2 separate regions of the Homo sapiens genome follow, and region 1 is linked to region 2. Evidence: promoter capture Hi-C in human tissues and cell types (Jung and others, 2019). All regions are on one chromosome and are shown on one strand. Each heading gives the region's core, a stretch centred on a gene start or on the middle of the fragment in contact. The rest is flanking DNA. Distances are from core to core; before and after follow the strand shown.

Region 1 (3,721 bases), core at 606-3,105, 59 kb before region 2:
AACAGAAATCATAAGGCAGCAGAAGTTCTGAGGAAGCAGAGCCAACAACAAAAGAGATGGGATGGGGTTAGTGGTGCACACAACAGGTCTCCTGCTCCAGATGAATCAGGTTCCACTTTGCCCTTGAGGTCAAGCCACACTGGCCTTTGTTCAGTCCCTTGTTACCTACCATGTTGTTTCCTGTCACAGAGCCAATGCACATATTCTTCCCTCTCTGGAAATATCTTCCCTCCCCTATTTGCCAAGTTCACTTCTACTCATCTTCAAGGTCTCTTTTTGCTTCTATTTTTGCCACTGACCTCCCTAGCTAGGTAAAATCACCCTATCTTACGCTCTCATAGCACCTATGAGACAAGTTCTCTTCACAGCACTTACCGCAAATGTAATTTTGCAAATTCATTGTATAATTTCATTTTTAATGTAATCTCCTCCACTAGACTATAAGCTTTTTGACCATTTTTTTTCTTCTCATTACTGTATCTCTATTACTTAGCACAATGCCTGGTATGTTGTCGAAACTCAGTAAAAAATCTGTTGAATGATTGAATTAAAGGGTATATATAGAGTCTGATTTCTGATTTTGTTCTTCTGATTAACTTCTATTAATGATTAAGCTAGGAGACCCTGTATATATACAGGGTCTATATATAGTTATTCTCTAGTAGCAGAAGTATAAACAGAGTAATTGGTGCTATGTCAATGGGTGTCTATGATTGAGGGAGACAGAAAAAATGTGGTTTATTGGAGCTGAAAAAAATTCCAGTTTTTCAGAAGGCCTGATCAAAATTTACCATTTGTATTTTATTATGCTTTCTTAAAAGAAACTCTATAGTAGACACTACTGCTTACTTACTCAGAAACCATTCCACTCCTCCTATTCCAACCCTATCCCCCTGCCCCATTTCCCTGATTGACACAACTCCAATCATGTTCAGGTATTGACTTCTCTTACATCACTTCCAAGCCAGGACACACTGACCCCCTGGCCAGTTCCAGGGGTATATCGGATTTAGAAAAGTTTCCACATGCTGTGAGGGAGCCAATGGAAGAGATGCTCTCTCATTCCTTTGAATATTTCTGAGCTTATGTTGATTTTTTGAAGTGTTGGAGCCACATTGCTATCAGCGTAAGAATTAGGACAAACCAAGGATCACTGAGTAAAGACAGGCAATGCACCTGGGTTTTTGACAGCATCCACGACTAGCTGAATCAACCTTGGAGACCACCAGAATCCAGGACTGACTGTCTGTCTGTCTGTCTATCTATCTATCTATCTATCTATCATCTATCTATTTTTTACGAAGCCAGTTTACAGTGTCTGTTACTTGCAGCTGACAATTTTCTAATATAAAGTGTTATTATCAGATGTTACTTTCATGTCTCTGTTCTTTGAAGAAGGAAAAAAACAGGACCAATACACACACATATATAGGAACTCTCTGTATTAGCTGTTCAATTTTCTGTAAACTTAAACTGTTCTAAAAAAGTAAAGTCTATTGAAATTAAAAAAAAACAAATGCAGATATCAAACATTTCCACACTTTATGTTCTAGAATAACTTCTCCTCCTTGTCTACCTGGTAAATTTCTATGATATATTAAAAACTTACTGCTCAAAAAAGCATTTATTCAAAAAATATTTACCATTTATCAAGTATCTGCCAGGTAGGTAGTAGGCTCATCAGGGACCAGAAAGAAAAGATGAATGTGAATTATTTTTCAGGTTTTAAAGACTTTTCTTTTTCAGTGACAATTAGCAACTGAAAGCTATCATAAAATATGGGTTCCGAGTTTGTGAAGCATATTTTCACTTGAAAACCCAAGTGCCCCTGGGTATTCACAGGTGCATGCTTGGGGTTCATGAGAATTTATTTTTCTTTCTCTTAAAGCTACAGCTCCCTCAGCATCACCGTCTCCTGAAGAGAAGTGGTAGAATGAAACATAACCTCATGCAGGCAAACTTGCATTTTGGAAGTCCTTTTGATTGGGTCTATTTTACTGTGTATCTACCTAAGGCAGTATGAATGTTACCCTTGCCACATTCCCTCATCCTACCAGTATGTAGCAATAAGTATGTACTTTACTAGCACTTAGTTTTGTAGACTAAAGTAATTTTTTATATATCTGTATGCCATGCTGTAGTGGAAAGAACTTGGACTTGGAGGATGACACACAGACTCTAAAGTTTGTATAACTTCAGGCAAGTTTCCCAATACACTTGTGACAGTTTCCCTTATATAAAATGGGACAAATTACATCTACTTTGCAGGGTTGCTGTGAGTATTAAATGAAATAACACAGCAAGTATCAAGTGGGGAGGTTAGCAGAAAGGCTGTGCTACATAGATGTGTTGAACAAATGAATTCACGATCCTCCCCTACCCAGACCTTAGTGAACCCTCAGTCAGGAGTGATGGGAGCAGTCTCTGCCTTGACCCCAGCCCAGATCCTTTTCAGTGTACTTTATTCTCTGATCCAGTCTCTGGTTCTGTGTGTCACATTGCTCCAATCAGCTCTGATTATTTCCTGGAATTTGTTCTTATTTACCACTTACTAAACGGTTTTGCGTGTTCTGTCTTCTGCATTTGAAGTTTAACATAAAAAACAAAACAAAACAAAACTAAACAAAAAACACCTTAAAGCACCTTCATGCTTCAACTACACAATGCACCTACTGAATTTCCCATGGTGTTTTTGCTTCTGCCGCCAGTTTTCTACATTACAGGAAAATTAGCTCTTCAAGAAATGCAACTCAGTTTAACTGTAAATAGCCCAGTAAATGGCCCTTGCTGGCAAATGAGTACCTTTCACAAATATCTATAATTGGGTAAAAAGAGGATTTAGAGATTACCCGACTTGCAGGCAACGAAAACAGTATTTCCAGGGTTAAATATAACCAAAAAGTTTCTTCTGCATTTCTGGAATGCCCCAGGATTATTTTTTTCTCTTCTGCTGAGTTTTTATTCTTTTTTTGTAAAGCTATTTGAAGCAAAATACTAGTTTGCTGAAAATTTGCCTTTTATTTGTTTCATTTGAATATCATGAGCAAGTTCTCTGATCCTAGGCAAAGCCTGTTGGCATAACACATAATTTGTTCATCAAAAAAAATTCAGTCGGCATGTACTAGGATCCAGATATTGTGCTAGGTGATGGGACACATTGTGAACAAGACAGAGACGGCCCCTCCTTTCATGGAGCCCAGCTTTTCTATTTGTGTCTTTATCTGTAAGATTGATAGGATGATTCTATTTTACTGGGTTGTTGAAAGAATTAAATGAGCTACGGTATGTAAAGTTCTTATCTCAGGTGTTTCCACTCCAAGTACAGAGGTCACATGTCTACAGGCAAGAGGCTGTCCAGAGCACTCACTGCAGAAAGGATGAACTGGAATGGGGATTTTAACTTAGCCCTCAATAGATGGCAGCTCTAATGAGGAATGTGATGCCATTGAGAGCACTGGAGGAAGGTGGTTATAAGATTAAAACTGCATTTGCAAAGAGCACTCTGGAAGCAGTATGGAGAATGACTTGGAATGAGGCTAAACTAGAAATCTGAATGAAGCCAGTAGGAAGTAGAGGAAGTCTGACTTAAGAGAGTTGCAGCAGGTAGGAAGAGGGAAGGAAGAACAGACAGTTCTGAGACAGATAGGGCTAGAGTGTTTTGTTTTGTGCTGAGGTAAAGGTATGAAAGGAGTCTCAAGGGTTTCTGGCTCCAGTGGCTAGG
Region 2 (3,639 bases), core at 631-3,130:
AGAGAGGAAAGTAAGAGGGCACGGGAATGCGGAGCAGCGAGAGAGAGGCGGCGAGCGGACGGCACAGGGCCACACGCGCCGGGTGAGGGCAGAAGGCGGCGTTTCCCCAGAGACCACTGCACATCCTCGCCGTCGTGGCTGCAGGTTCTCCGGCTCTGATGGGTCTCCCCTCCAACTGCCAAAAGGTAGTGGTGCATTCACCCGCGATGACGGCAAAGTGGGGAGGGGTTTTTTGGGTGTTCCCAGACCCTGCTCTTAAGGGGATGGAAGGTTCTTGGGAAATAGAGTAGCTGGGTGCCACGCACCCCAATGTATACTATTTTCAGCTAAATTGGAATCTATCACTGTTGGATAAGGAGAAATTAAATAATAGGTGGTTTTGTGATGCTGTGCCTGTGCAAAACAAAACACACAAACAAAAATCAAAAGCTTAAGTAGCAAGTGGGAGCCCTGAAGAATATCTTGTTAAAAGTGACTCTGAAAGTGTCTACAAACATGTTACCGGGAGTTATAGGATTTGACGGGAAATATTCTTAATTGGAAAGACGTGGCATCTAAATTAAAGGTAGACAATTAAAAAAATCCACCTAGTTTTAAAAACCACAACGTAACCACTAAGTAGTATTTCTTTAGTTTCCTGTACTTTGAGGACACAACTGGACCACCAACTAGAAAAAAAAATTCCTCCTCCTGTTTCCAGGTTCCAAAATTCAGAAATGAAATGATTTATTTCATTTTTGTTTTCAAAATGATGTTTAAATCCAAAAAACCCCCCAGATAACTGCAAGTTAATTTTCTTTGCAAATGTTAACCATTTTCCCTTAATTAAATCACACGAAATAGTATAAAATTAGAAGTCTACTGCCAGGTCACCACTTAAGGACACTTAAGACAGGAGATATATCCTTAATTATACATCTGTAAACAAGCCAGATACCCCAAACCTTCAATTTTTCGGGATAGTTATCTGTGAGGAAGCTTGATCTCTATGATCTCACCTGAATTTTATGTACTAAAATACAGGTCACTATGAAATAACGCTAAAGTACTCTGTCCATCCCACAGACAATTTATTTTTCAAATGTTTCTATAAGTGCATATATAGCGTTGTGTCCTGCTTGTAATGCTGGGCAAGTCCACCAAAGTGCAAAGACTGCATCTGCTGGGGCAGAGGGATGTACGAAATATTTTTTAAATATCCTAACTTAAACAGGGGTAGAACATCTCACACACTCAGCAATAATTTTCAGATTCAACAAATGGAGAAAAGAAAAAAACATAAGTAAAAAAAGAGCATACTACCTCCATAACGTTTCAAAAAATCATTTTAACATATAGGAACATCCAGAATGAGAAAATTACACAGGTACTCCTCCATCTAAAGCCAACTTCCATATGCCAGTAGTCTGCATGAAAGAACAAACTTTCAACCTGCATTTAAGAAGACCCCAAGGATTAACAGACGTTAATTATCTTACTCTAAATGCAAGTTAGTGATTTTGTTTTAGAAAACCCCGTCAAGATCACTAATTGATGGATGCCCATTAATACACCTGTATTTGCATTTCAGCGGTAAAAGACAAGCAGGTTTTCGGCACAGAAGAGAGCCGCTTTGCCAAGTCTTTTCAAAACGTCAATATGCTTCAAGTAATACCAAAGCTGAGAGATTCCTCTTGATTTCCAAACTGTCTAGGTGGCCTGAGTGGTTTTCCGCCGGCAGCAGCCTCCTACCTTTAGTTTGTGTGCCTATATCCATGAGTGGGGATTAATTAGCCGGGTTGGAGCTGAAGGAGGCTGTCGTGACGAGCCCAGTGGCGATTGGCCGCCCGCCTGCCTGGCCCTGCCTTTATAATTTCCACACGAGTGCATCTGGGCTCTTAGACAAACCAACAGCAGCTTCTTCTGACATATACACACGCACACTCACCCCGGACACACACTCAGCACACTTTTCCTCCATTTGATTAACAGTGCTGCACACACAATGATTACGGGAAAGCGCAAATAAATACGGAAAGGGGTGCTTATTTTGACTACTGGAAGAGCTTTGCTGGGTCTCAGCGCAACTTTTGTTTTTTATTCCTGAGAAGGTGATCTCTCCATGCGGTTCTCTCACACAAGGATTCTTTAAAAGAGGAAGAGAGACAAGCAGAGGGGGGAGGACAGTCTTTCACTTTAAGAACGGCTGGGCTCAAAGATAAAAGGAAGGGAAAAGCAGCAGCAGCAGCAGCAGCAGCAGCAGCAGCAGCAGCAGCAGCAGCAGCAGCAGCAGGGAAACCAACGCTGCAGCACTTCCGAAAGGCATTTTTGATCCATTTCTGAGTGTTGCGGCCCGTTTCTCCACCGAAGTTGGCTCCAGCTCTAGCAGCCGCATTGGATCCCACAGCTTACTGCGAGACTCCGGTGTACAATCCGGATCTCTGCCCCAACATGATTGCGGCCCAGGCCAAGCTGGTCTACCATCTGAATAAATACTACAACGAAAAATGCCAAGCCAGGAAAGCTGCCATTGCCAAAACTATCCGGGAAGTCTGCAAAGTAGTTTCCGACGTACTGAAGGAAGTGGAAGTGCAGGAGCCGCGGTTCATCAGCTCTCTCAACGAGATGGACAATCGCTACGAGGGCCTCGAGGTCATCTCCCCCACCGAATTTGAAGTGGTGCTTTATCTCAACCAAATGGGGGTGTTCAACTTCGTGGACGATGGCTCACTGCCCGGCTGCGCGGTGCTGAAGTTGAGCGACGGGCGCAAGAGGAGCATGTCCCTCTGGGTGGAATTCATTACCGCCTCCGGCTACCTCTCGGCGCGCAAAATCCGGTCCAGGTTTCAGACGCTGGTGGCTCAAGCGGTAGACAAATGTAGCTACCGGGATGTGGTAAAGATGGTGGCAGACACCAGCGAAGTGAAACTGAGAATCCGAGATAGGTACGTGGTGCAGATCACGCCGGCCTTTAAATGCACCGGGATCTGGCCGAGGAGTGCTGCCCACTGGCCACTTCCCCACATCCCCTGGCCGGGACCCAACCGGGTGGCGGAGGTCAAGGCGGAAGGTTTCAATCTCTTGTCCAAGGAGTGCCACTCCTTGGCCGGCAAGCAGAGCTCGGCGGAGAGCGACGCCTGGGTGCTGCAGTTCGCGGAGGCAGAGAACAGACTGCAGATGGGGGGCTGCAGAAAGAAGTGCCTCTCCATCCTCAAAACCTTAAGGGATCGTCACCTTGAACTGCCGGGCCAGCCCTTGAACAATTACCATATGAAGACTCTGGTTTCCTACGAGTGTGAAAAGCATCCCCGAGAGTCGGACTGGGACGAGTCTTGCCTGGGTGATCGGCTGAACGGGATTTTGCTGCAACTTATCTCCTGCCTGCAGTGCCGGCGGTGTCCCCACTACTTTCTACCGAACTTAGATCTGTTTCAAGGCAAACCTCACTCAGCTCTGGAAAACGCTGCCAAACAAACGTGGCGACTGGCAAGAGAGATCCTGACCAACCCGAAAAGTTTGGAAAAACTTTAGAGGATGATTTAATCAAGAGCCGAAATTATTACCCTTCTCAAAGTCCTTATTAAGTGTAAACTTCTGTTCAATTCCTAATATTCCACTCCGCAGTGCAAACAATCTCTTCCTTTAAAAAGGAATAATAAT

What was found. The method cuts DNA at HindIII sites, captures the fragments that hold promoters and counts their contacts. A contact is called where the count stands out against the background at its distance.
Region 1: a fragment that was not itself captured here is called in contact with the fragment with the promoter of MAB21L1 in region 2 in 1 of the 25 tissues and cell types used here (H1 embryonic stem cells).

Annotation. Positions count from the first base shown.
Region 1 is chr13:35,534,209-35,537,929 of GRCh38, reverse strand. All of the region lies in intron 41 of NBEA (neurobeachin), which reads right to left. Among named protein-coding and RNA genes, the nearest start is that of MAB21L1, 59 kb to the right of the region's middle. The HindIII fragment of the contact is 7,621 bases long and covers 1-3,721 here.
Region 2 is chr13:35,474,930-35,478,568 of GRCh38, reverse strand. MAB21L1 (mab-21 like 1) reads left to right here and starts at 1,880. Exons shown (of 1, transcript NM_005584.5): 1 at 1,880-3,639. The coding sequence starts at 2,431. The coding sequence ends at 3,510. All of the region lies in intron 41 of NBEA (neurobeachin), which reads right to left. RefSeq lists an enhancer at 2,308-3,304. The HindIII fragment of the contact is 6,873 bases long and covers 705-3,639 here.